Regions from separate parts of the Homo sapiens genome. Here region 1 is linked to region 2. Evidence: promoter capture Hi-C in human tissues and cell types (Jung and others, 2019). All regions are on one chromosome and are shown on one strand. The core of a region is centred on a gene start or on the middle of the fragment in contact, and the rest is flanking DNA. Distances in the headings are between cores, read along the strand shown.

Region 1 (5,836 bases), core at 2,487-4,986, 180 kb after region 2:
CTTGCTCTGTCACCAGGTTGGAGTGCAGTGGTGCCATCATGGCTCACCGCTGCCTCAAACTCCTGGGCTGAAGCAGTCCTCCCACCTCACCTTCCCAAAAGGTTAGGATTACAGGCATGAGCTGCTGTGCCCATCCAGGCATTGATCCTTAAGTCCACAGCAAAACACCACGATGTAGACAAAAGCTTGTTCCCCCTTCTATGTACAGACACTGACAACAGTGAATTATTAACTCCAGAGAGGAACTGGTAACTGATTGGTTAACTTGAGAAAGGAGCTGACATCACTGGTGTTTTACTTCAGAGCAACTGAAACCACTGAAGTGAAATTCCAGAGGAACTAATATTACTGAGGTGTTACTTCAGAGGGACTGAGATCACTGAAGTGAAACCTCAGATAGCTCAGATAACCAAGGTGTTAACCTTAGAGGTGTTGCCATTCTGTGAGGTGTTGTTTCAGATAGATAAAATAACTAAGGTGTTAGTTCAGAGAAGACAAGAGCTTAACTGTTTCTTTGGAGAAGAGCTGAGATCACTGAGGCGTCACTTCAGAAAGAAAGTGAGACAATTTTTGTTACTTCAGAGGATCTGAGTACACTGAGGTGTTTCATCAGAGAGGAGGTGAGATCACTGGGTGTTACTTCTGAAAGGAATTGACATCACTAGTGGGTACTGCAGAGTAGCTCTGACCACTGAGGTTTACTTCAGAGGAGCTGAAATAACGGAAATGGGATCACTAAGGTATTACTTTAGAGATTAGATCATTGAGGTAATTCTTCAGAGAAGCTGAGATCACAGAGGTGTTTCTTCAGAGAAGTTGAAATCACTAATGTGAAACTCTAGAAGAATGGAGGTCACTGAGTGCTATTTCATAAAGGAAGTGAAATCACTATATTGTACCATCGGAAAGATGAGAATGCTGAGATGTTACTTAGGAGCTGAGATCACTGAGGTTCTGCTTCAGAGAAAAGCTGATACCAATGAGATGTTACTTAAGGGAGGAGCTGAGGTTACTGAGGTATTATTCAGGACCAAGATGGTGTCCCTCAGGTGTTAGAAGCTGAGATCACAGAGATGTTACTTAAGAGAGGCTGAGACTGCTGATGTGATTCTTCAGAAAGGAAATGAGATCACTAAGCTGTTAACTTTAGAAAGGAGATGAAATAACTGAGTTGTTCACTGGAGTTGAGATCACACAGGTGTTAACTTCAGAGGTGGCTGAAATCACTAAGGTGATTCTTCAGAGAAAGGTTGAGATCACTAGGGGTGATGCTTTAGAAAGAGGTTACTTTAGGGAAAAGCTATGATCACTGAGAAGTTACTTCAGAATGGAGCTGAGATCACTGAGGTAACAGTCCAAAGAGGAACTGAGATTACTGAGGTGTTACTTCAGAGCCAAGAGATCACCCAGGTACCTAGATGAGATCACTGAGATGAAAGTCCAGAAACCTGAGGTCACCTCAATATTAATTGAGAGAAAATGAGAACACTGTGGTGCTATCTTAAATCTTCTATGAAAGGAAGCTGCCAACCTGTGTTAGCTGAGTCCACAGCTGGCATGTGACTCAGTGGCAGCTGCTCAGTGCCCACTACTATTCAGGCCCCAATTTCTAATCATTAAAGACAAAGTCATATTCCAATTAAGATGAGAATAATTAAATTCAATATACAGGAACATTTGTTTAGAAAGACTGTGTATCACAGGACAACGTAAGTTACACAGTACAAGTTATTCTGGATTCCAATAACCTAGGGTTTTCAGGGAAATCCTTCCAAAAAGTATAGTTTTTTTCCTGCATTCTTAAAATGAGCTTAATATCATTCTGCCTGTTCTTGCTATGTCAGGCTGCCATTGATCCACTGGTGAGAATGCAGGCTCAGGTGTCCACGGAGCCAGGAAGTGGGCTTCAATGCCCTTCTTTCTGAGGAGGATTCCCAGGCTACATTTTCTTGCCACTCACCTCCTCCTCTCCAAGGAGAAAGAGGTGGCACATGACCTACTGGAACATGTGGGCTATCTACCTTTTTGGGATATAACATCAAAGGCCAGGGCCCTGAATTTTCATGCTGATAACAGTCTTCTCAACCATTATCTTCTGCCTGATTTGTCAGCAGCATTCCACCTTTATTTTGGATTTGTTTTATTCAGAAGTCTGTATATTTTAGGTATTTAAATACTTCTCTTTGGCTGGGTGCAATGGCTCACACCTGTAATCCCAGCACTTTGGGAGGCTGAAGTGGGTGGATCGCTTGAGCCCAGGACTTTGAGACCAGCATGGCGAAAACCCGTCTCTACAAAAAAAAAATTAGCTGGGTGTTGTGGCTTGCGCCTGTAGTCCCAGATACGTGGGAGGCTAAGGTGGGAGGATTGATTGGGAGTTCAAGACTAGTGTGCTGTGATCATACTATCTAGCCTGGACAACAGAGAGAGACCTTGTCACAAAAAATACGTATATATTTCTTTTAAAATTGTTTCTTCTAACAGCTATTAAGAATTTGAAACTTGGTTCTCTTCAAATTTTCTATTATTTTGGAAAACATTTTAGTCTGCCTGGAATTTCTGTGTATAATCTGACGCTTTCCAATAAAAAAGTAATGACTGGAACAAGTATTTGCAGTGAAGAAAGATCAGTAACTTTGGCATAAAGATCTCCTACAAATCAGTGACCATAGGACATGAACAGACCACTCCAAATAAGAGAATATACAACCATGGAAGCTTGGAAAAGGCTCAAGTGTACCAATCCCAAAACAAATAACAACATGCTACCCACTAATCAGTTAGTAAAGATTATCCTGTAATGACCAGGTATGAGGAGATGTGTGCTTTCATGCATTGCTGATGATGTTATCAATTAATACAATCCTTTTTCCCTGGAATTTCTCTGGGCCATAAAGTGGCTTCTGCTGTGGCTATCCCATGTCCGGTGTGAGGAGACAGTGGTATGACTCATCCCTTTGTGTCCGGAATTGGTGGGTTCTTGGTCTCACTGACGTCAAGAATGAAGCTGCGGACCCTCGTGGTGAGTGTTACAGTTCTTAAAGGCAGTGTGTCTGGAGTTTGTTCGTTCTGATGTTCGGACGTGTTCAGAGTTTCTTCCTTCTGGTGGGTTCGTGGTCTCACTGGCTCAGGAGTGAAGCTGCAGACCTTCGCGGTCAGTGTTACAGCTCTTAAGGTGGTGCGTCTGGAGTTGTTCATTCCTCCCGGTGGGTTCATGGTCTCGATGGCTTCAGGAGTGAAGCTGCAGACCTTCGCGGTGAGTGTTACAGCTCGTAAAAGCAGTGTGGACCCAAAGAGTGAGCAGTAGCTAGATTTATTGCAAAGAGCAAAAGAACAAAGCTTCCACAGTGTGGAAGGTGACCCGAGCGGGTTGCCACTGCTGGCTCGGGCAGCCTGCTTTTATTCTCTTATCTGGCCCCACCCACATCCTGCTTGATTGGTCCATTTTACAGAGAGCCAATTGGTCTGTTTTACAGAGAGCTGATTGGTCCATTTTGACAGGGTGCTGATTGGTGCATTTACAATCCCTGAGCTAGACACAAAAGTTCTCCATGTCCCCACTGGATTAGCTAGATACAGAGTGCTGATTGGTGCATTTACAAACCTTGAGCTAGATACAGAGTGCTGATTTGTGTATTTACAATCCTTTAGCTAGACATAAAGGTTCTCCAAGTCCCCAACAGAGTAACTAGATACAGAGTGCCGATTGGCGCATTCACAAACCCTGAGCTAGACACAGGGTGCTGACAGGTGTGTTTACAAACCTTGAGCTAGATACAGAGTGCTGATTGGTGTATTTACAATCCCTTAGCTAGACATAAAGATTCTCCAAGTCCCCACCAGATTAACTAGATACAGAGTGACGAATGGTGCATTCACAAACCCTGAGCTAGACACAGAGTGCTGATTGGTGTGTTTACAATCCCTTAGCTAGACATAAAGGTTCTCCAAGTCCCCACTAGACTTAGGAGCCCAGCTGGCTTCACCCAGTGGATCCCACACCAGGGCCACAGGTGGAGCTGCCTGCCAGTCCTGTGCTGTGCGCCCGCACTCCTCAGCCCTTGGGTGGTCAATGGGACTGGGCGCTGTGGAGCAGGGAACGGTGCTTGTCAGGGAGGCTCAGGCCACGCAGGAGCCCACGGCGGGCAGGGGGAGCCTCAGGAATGGCAGGCTGCAGGTCCCGAGCCCTGCCCCATGGGGAGGCAGCTAAGGCCCAGTGAGAAGTCGAGCACAGCAGCTGCTGGCCCAGGTGCTAAGCCCCTCACTGCCCAGGGCTTGCAGGCCGGCCAGCAGCTCCGAGCGCGGGGCCTGCTGAGCCCATGCCCACCCGGAACTCACGCTGGCCCACAAGCACCGTGCGCAGCCCTGGTTCCCACCCACGCCTCTCCCTCCACACCTCCCTGCAAGCTGAGGGAGCCGGCTCCAGCCTTGGCCAGCTCAGAAAGGGGCTTCCACAGTGCAGCGGCAGGCTGAAGGGCTCCTCAAGCACAGCCAGAGTGGACGCCAAGGCCAAGGAGGCACCGAGAGCAAGCAAGGGCTGCCAGCATGCTGTCACCTCTCACCTTCTCTGGAGAAAGATGACAGCACACTGGGCTTGGCATGTGCCAGGCAGCCCTGAGGCATCCCTGAGAGAGAGGGGGCATTCCCAGAAAACAGGCTGGGAAATCTCTGGCCACCAACGGCCACTCAGTGTACAGAGGACCTGGTGATAGAAGCTGGGAATTTCTTGTCTAGGAGTTGGACTTGCCCTGGAGTGGGGGAAACTTTTGGGTGGTAGTAGTGTGTATTAAGCTTCTCTAGAGGCACAGAACTAATAGAAATATATATATATATATATATATATATATGGAAGAACTTGGAAGTCCGATGTTCTAGGGCAGGAAGCGTCCAGCATGGAAGAAAGATGTAGGCTGGGAGGCCAGGCCAGTCTCCTTTTCACGTTTTTCTGCCTGCTTTGTATTCACTGGCAGCTGATTAGATGGTGCCCACCAGATTAAGGGTGGGTCTGCCTTCCCCAGCCCACTGACTCGGATGTTGATATCCTTTGGCAACACCCTCGCATACACACCCAGGATTAATACTTTGCATTTGTTAATCCAATCAAGTTGACACTCAGTATTAACCATCACAAGTCCACCCCTTGTCAACTTGAACCCATACACATCTCCTGAGATCATACATAATCTTCAAATAAAGACACTAATAAGGTCATAATTATACCTAACATAATACAACTATCTTTTGTACAACTGGAAACAAACCAATCCCCAACCCAAATGCTATTACATAAAGTTAACAATACTTAAATGCTGATATGAAGTCAATAAATCTTATGTCACGTGATAAAGGAAAATGAAATAAAATGAAGATATTCTTAGTACAAGTGTTTACATGCACAAACTTTTTTTTTTTTCCCGAGACATAGTCACGCTCAGTTGCCCAGGCTGGAGTGCAGTGGCGCAATCTCAGATCACTGCAAGCTCCGCCTCCCGGGTTGATGCCTTTCTCCTGCCTCAGCCTCCTGAGTAGCTGGGACTACAGGTGCCCGCCACCATGCCCAGCTAATTTTTTGTATTTTTAGTAGAGATGAGATTTCACCGTGTTAGCCAGGATGGTCTCGATCTCCTGACCTCGTGATCCGTCCGTCTCGGCCTCCCAAAGTGCTGGGATTACAGGCATGAGCCACCGCGCCTGGCCAACACAAACATGTTTTTAACAAAAGAAGGAAAAATACTCATGACAATTACATCCCCTATTTTATGCATCATATGTTGACTTTGAGGGCTATATAATTGTTCTGGAATTAGAACTTGTGCTCCCCATTGTTGTAATAAAT
Region 2 (5,893 bases), core at 1,044-3,543:
CTGGTTCCCTGAGGATGATACCTGCTCAGGAATGAAGGCAACATGCACAAAGGTACCAGGTGAGGGACTGGACCCAGGGATACCACACCCCTGCATCTTCTGTACTTCCTCTAACATAGGTGGTCAGCATACTCTTTCACTCCTTATCCAATTTTATCAAAAATAGAGATTAGGGCAATATGACATAACAGCATTAAGCACTAAACCATTTGACAGGGATTCCTTTCAAAAGTGAAAACCAGTGTACGATTATACAGCTTCTCCACTAATCTTTGTTACCAACAGCCACTTAATCTAATCCTAAAGACTGAGTACAATATTCCTTCTACAATACTTTGAACACTCACTTCAATTTATTGCATATTTTCTAAATGCACCTCTCTCTCTCTTCTGAAAGAGAGAACATTTCATCAGAAAACGAACGGGGTCTTTTGCCTATCTGATGGTCTCACACCTTCACAACAGCTACAAATCCTTGGACCAGCCAGGGACAGACCAACTCCAGGGTTCTCTGACAACAGAAGTCCTGGAAAGGCTCTGCACTCAAAACAAACCCCTACACCACCCCAAGGGAGGGGGATTGTTTCAGGTTCGGGGAGACGCTAAAAGAAATTGAACCTAAACTCTTCATCAGGCATGTCCAGAGTGGCTTTGGCTCTCCATATAGAGCGAGGCCTGCAGACCCTTTGGCTCTTCTTTCTGGTGGCTCCATCTACAGGTTGCACCTGGGCTGAATAAGCAGCTGTCGGGGAGAGAAGCAGCGTATGTCAGAACTGAATAATAACAATTAACATTACCTGTACAGTTATGTTTGCCCATACAATTCTAACCACCTTGCATAAATTAACTGATTAATTCCTCAAATTTGTAAGGTTGATATTACTATCATCCCCCACTTAGAGAGGTTCAGTAGTTTGCAAAAGGTGTTAGTACTACTATGTGGTAGATCCAGGATTTGAACCTAGCTGATCTGGCCCCAGGAATTGCACTCAAACTGTTATGGGATATGGCTTCATTGCTAGTAGAGAAAGCCAAGACACAAAGACATGAGGCAGCTTTCCCCAACCCAGGAGCAGGACCAACATAGGACCATGCTCTTTCCCACTCCTCCCAGGGCCTCCCCGCTGCTTCCCAGGTTCAGTCCTAGGAAGAGGAAAGAGAGGTCCACGCTTTCTGTTTCCCTGCTCCCTCAGGCTTCCCTGAGCCCATCTCCTTCCCCCACCAGGCTTGTTGCTCTGGGCCTTCTTCCTTTCACCCCCTAGACACTTCCTCCTTAAGTTAGGCCTTCCTGAATCAACCAGTGGCTAGCTCCTCACCAGCTCTGAGAGCCCGCAGGGCCTCACGCCATTCGGCTTCCATCTGAGCCCTATAGTCTCCAAACAAGGAGTGCATCAGCTGCCTCTTCCGGGGCAAGGGCGTTCTTTTGCTGCGCAGGGTTCGGATTGCTCCAATAGCCTGCTCTTCTGCGAATAAAAATAAAGGACTAGTGAACACCTCTATTACTGACCTCCTACCACCCCGCCGCAAAGCCAACAACTCCATACTCTGCCAGCACCTGCAGGCCAGGCAGTGCCACTGTTCACATCCCCCAGCTCTACAGAAGGGTCCCTTACTCTGTTTCGGGGTGGGTTTCTGCCTCTTGAGGCCCAGCTCCAGTTGCTCCACACACCAAGCCAATTCCTGGGCCAACTGTTGTGCCTGTGATGGATTTGGGGAAGTGGCTGTGAGAGGGCACTGGAAAACCATAGCCGCCGGCCCCATCCCATGCCCCTCCCCGCCTTAACTCCGCGGACCCCAGATCACACGTGCCCGTGGATTCGCACCCGTGGATTCCACCCTTCCCGACCGAAGCCCGCCCTTGCCTGGGCCTCAGCGCTTAGGGGAACTTCTTCTGGGGCGAGTTTCTCTGAGGCCTTCTCGCCTCCATTTGCCACAGAGGCCCTGTTCCGCGTTTTCTTCTTATTCTTTTGTTTTTTCGACGCTGTGCCGCCTTCATCGCCCAACGGGTGCGCTCTGGAGTCAGCGTTACTGCACGTAGGTTGCTCTGGGCAGAGACAGACAGTGGAAGGATTCCGGGCGCTGGAAACTGGGCCGGGAAGCCGGGCTCCGCGGGACGCGCAGGGAGTACCCGGGCCTGGGGCCGCCGCTGCCTCCCCAGCAAGATGTCCCAGGGCCTGGAGAAAGGGGGGTAGCACGAGGGTCACCGAGAGCCGCCAACAATGCAAGGCCCAGCCACCCGCGCGTCTTCTCCACACCGCTCACCGCCATGCGCCGCAGTCGCCACCGGAACTACGCGGGGCGCAGAGTCCGACGCCGAATTCCGTCCTTCAAGAACGCGCCTGCGACTCTAGGTTCCGCGGGGCGCGGGCGGGGCGCGGGCGGGGCGCGGGCGGGGCGCGGGCGGGGCGCGGGCGGGGCGCGGGCGGGGCGCGGGCGGGGCGCGGGCGGGGCGCGGGCGGGGCGCGGGCGGGGCGGGGCGCGGGCGGGGCGCGGGCGGGGCGGGGAGCGGGCGGGGCGGGGCGCGGCTGGGGTGGGATGAAGCTGGGACGGGGCGAAGCTGGGACGCGCCTGGGACGAAGCTGAGATGGGGCTGGGGCGGGGCCTGGGGGTTCGGGGAAGAGGCTGAAGAGGGGTCTCGGAAGAACCCTTGTGAGCGAGTGATCGCGGGCGCTGACTACGTGCCCGGCACCTTTCCGGATAAAAGTTCAAAGCTCTCCACGAGGGTGTGTCTTCTCAAGGCTCACCTTTTGGTGGGGAGGGAAAAGCAAGTAAACAGCACGTGAGCAGCTACGGCGCAAGAGGGTGGTCGGCAAAGACCCTGGGAAATGGGGAAGAGCGAGGGTCAGGGCGCGGTCGTTTGAGAGGCCGGCGTCTCGGGACGTGGAGGCTCGGGTGAGGTCTGAGAGTTGGGAGGGCCCCCGTCATGGGCTTACTTCCGTTCTAACGCAGTGGGAAGTCGCTGCAAGATGTAAATCTGAAGAGTGGCATAATCGTAGACGTATGTTCTGCAGATCTCTCTGCTCTTGTGTAACGAGTGGGGCACATGGGGTGGAGGGACGTGGAGGGGTTTCAGAAGCAGACGCGGGAAGAGCCTTGGACAGGATATGGACGTGAGGGAGGGTGGCGGTATGGGGGAGAGGGAGAGCCCCATCCCACCACCTCTCTTCCCCTGGATGCTTCCCTCCCACTATACCTTGCTAGAGACCTGGGGTCACACACAACACTCGACCCCCGCCGATGGAGGCATGACAACCGAGAGGAATTGCGTAGGGGTTGAGGTGAGGCTGAGTAGGGTTTCAGGGGGGCAACGGGCTATGCCAGGAGGGTGGGTTGTGTTGCTTGAGAAGGTAAGAGTCCGAGATGTCTGATGATTCCTTTCGGGGACACAGGAGTGGAAAGCGGTGTTTCCTGAGACGGTGGGGTGGGAAGTGTTAGCTGCCTGGTCTGCAAGGTCTCGAAGGGTTACAGTTTGGTCATCACTGATAGTTATTTACTGCAGTGTGATACATTACTCCCAAAATTCGGCGGATTGGCCGGGCGCGGTGACTCACGCCTGTAATCCCAACACTTTGGGAGGCCGATGCGGGCGGATCACGAGGTTAGGAGTTTGAGACCATCCTGGCTAACATAGTGAAACCCCGTCTCTACTAAAAAATACCAAAAAATTAGCCGGGCATAGTGGCGGGCACTTGTAGTCCCAGCTACTCGGGAGGCTGAGGCAGGAGAATGGCATGAACCCGGGAGGTGGAGCTTGCAGTGAGCCAAGATCGCACCGCTGCACTACAGCCTGGGTGACAGAGCGAGACTCCATCTAAAAAAAAAAAAAAAAAAAAAACACGCAGAATTTAAACGGGACACGCAGTAAAGGAGATGCGGCATACAGTAATTTATTACAAAGGAGAAAGAATATTTGGAAAGTTAAGTGAACAATAGACAGTACACCCTGAGAGAGAGAGAGAGGATTGAGGGCCAGCTGCTCATAAGGTTGGGGCAGCAAAGACGCATGAGGGAGACTCCCTTTATGGGGGTCTTACATGATTATTCATAAGGAATTGGGAAGAGGTGCTACTAGTGAGTATGTTCTGGATGGTCCTCTGAGTGCACATGTGCGGTAGCTGTATGTTCTTACATGCTTGTTCATACAATGCTTCTTGTCATACAATGCTTGTTCTACATGCTGGTATATGATTGTTCGTACATGTCACATGTCTTATTAGCATCTTAAACCTCCAACCAGGGCTCTGTTTTTTACTATTATAATGAGCGAAAGGTCAGTCTGAGGACAGGTAAAATCAAAATGTACATGCTCTTTGCAGGGGAAATTCTCTACTGAAGATAGTTTTGCTTGAAAGAGCTTAACCACAATGTGAAGGCAGAGGCTTATTGTGCTGATTGCACAGTCACAACAGTTGCTGCATCCCGAGGACATGGTTACTTCCTTGACTACCTATCCTGCCTCACTTTCAATGCTCTGATTTTATCCATTACCTTCCTGACTCATATGCTATTTTTGTCTTGACTTCATTTCTATCTTTGTTTTTAAATCTGCCATATTAGACTTAATTCTATTTACAGTCAGTGTTTTCAAATATACAACTTTTGTTTTTCTTAGAGTCCATGTCTCACTCTGTCACCTAGGTTGTCCTGGGCTCAACTGATCCTCCCTCCTGCCTCAGCCTCCCAAGTAGCTGGGACCACAGGCATGCACCATCATACCAGCTAATTTTGTAATTTTTTGTAGAGATGGGGTCTCACCAGGATGCCCAGGCTGGTCTTGAACTCCTGGGCTCAAGCAATCTTCCCACCTCAGCCTCCCATGCCTGGCATCATTCCTTATATCTCAGTTCTGATATCATTTCTTTAAATGTACATCCTTTTAAAGCTCCTTTAATGAAATCTGTTATGGTGTTTTGGGTTTTGCTCATCTGAAAATGCCTATTTTTATTCTAATTCCTGGAGGATAGTTTGGATAGAAACACAATTTGAGGTTAACAGTTATTGTCTCTCAGAATTTTGAAAATGAGCCATCTCTGTAGACCTCTCCCACCTCTGGGACCCCACTCAACCCTGTATTCTTACCTCTATTACTGTACTGATGTGGTTATCTGTCTCTACATACCTTTGTATCCCAACTAGACTGAGAGATATGAGGAAAAGAGGCCAAGTGTTTCTGCATCTCTGATTTGCCATTGTCAGGCACACTACCAGGCACATAGGGGCTGCACAGTAATTGTAGGTTGATGTAATCATGAATAACCTTGGATTTGAACTGTTGCCTTTCCAGTGCTATATTTTCTATGGTTCCTCTTGTGGCAGGAAACATGAGTCTTCAGAAAAGATTTTTCCATAGTTAGCAAATCACACCAAAATATTTATTAAGGGGCTGAATGAATAAGGCAATGGGATGGGTACGGTGAAAGAACAAGAGAAGTACCCTGACCTTGAAGGACACAGTTTAAGAAAACAGATATCCAGGCTGGGCACAGTGGCTCCGCATATAATCCCAGCACTTTGAGAGGCCAAGGCAGGCAGATTGCCTGAGCCCAGGAGTTTGAGACCAGCCTGGGCAACATGGTCTCTACAAAAAATTTAAAAAATTAGCCGGTTGTGGTCCCAGCTACTTGGGAGGCTGAGGCAGGAGGATTGCTTTGGGCAGCGGTGGGAAGGGGGATGGTGCAGGGGCGGATGTTGCAGTGAGCCAAAATTCTACGACCACCCTCCAGCCTGGGTGACAGAGAAAGACCTAGTCTCAAAAAAAAAAAAGAAAAAAGAAAGAAAGAAAACATATATCTAAATATGTTTATATATACTGTGTCTCCATTAACATAATTACAAGTTTGGATCACATTTTACTTTTATTTTTTTCTCATTTTTTTCTATGATAAAGCCTGAT

Evidence for each region. Contacts are between HindIII fragments. The study calls those that stand out against the background at their distance.
Region 1: a contact is called between a fragment that was not itself captured here and the fragment with the promoter of C8orf33 in region 2, in 3 of the 25 tissues and cell types used here (H1 embryonic stem cells, adrenal gland and dorsolateral prefrontal cortex).

The regions. Positions count from the first base shown.
Region 1 is chr8:144,873,723-144,879,558 of GRCh38, reverse strand. It overlaps ZNF250 (zinc finger protein 250), which reads left to right. Exons shown (of 6, transcript NM_001109689.4): 6 at 1-2,604. Among named protein-coding and RNA genes, the nearest start is that of COMMD5, 24 kb to the right of the region's middle. RefSeq lists enhancers at 1-172, 373-522. The HindIII fragment of the contact is 4,568 bases long and covers 1,453-5,836 here.
Region 2 is chr8:145,048,867-145,054,759 of GRCh38, reverse strand. C8orf33 (chromosome 8 open reading frame 33) reads right to left here and starts at 2,293. Exons shown (of 5, transcript NM_023080.3): 1 at 2,263-2,293; 2 at 1,863-2,174; 3 at 1,614-1,698; 4 at 1,317-1,463; 5 at 1-742. The coding sequence starts at 2,268. The coding sequence ends at 603. RefSeq lists enhancers at 919-1,719, 2,648-2,697, 2,738-2,867 and a silencer at 2,368-2,437. The HindIII fragment of the contact is 15,142 bases long and covers 1-5,893 here.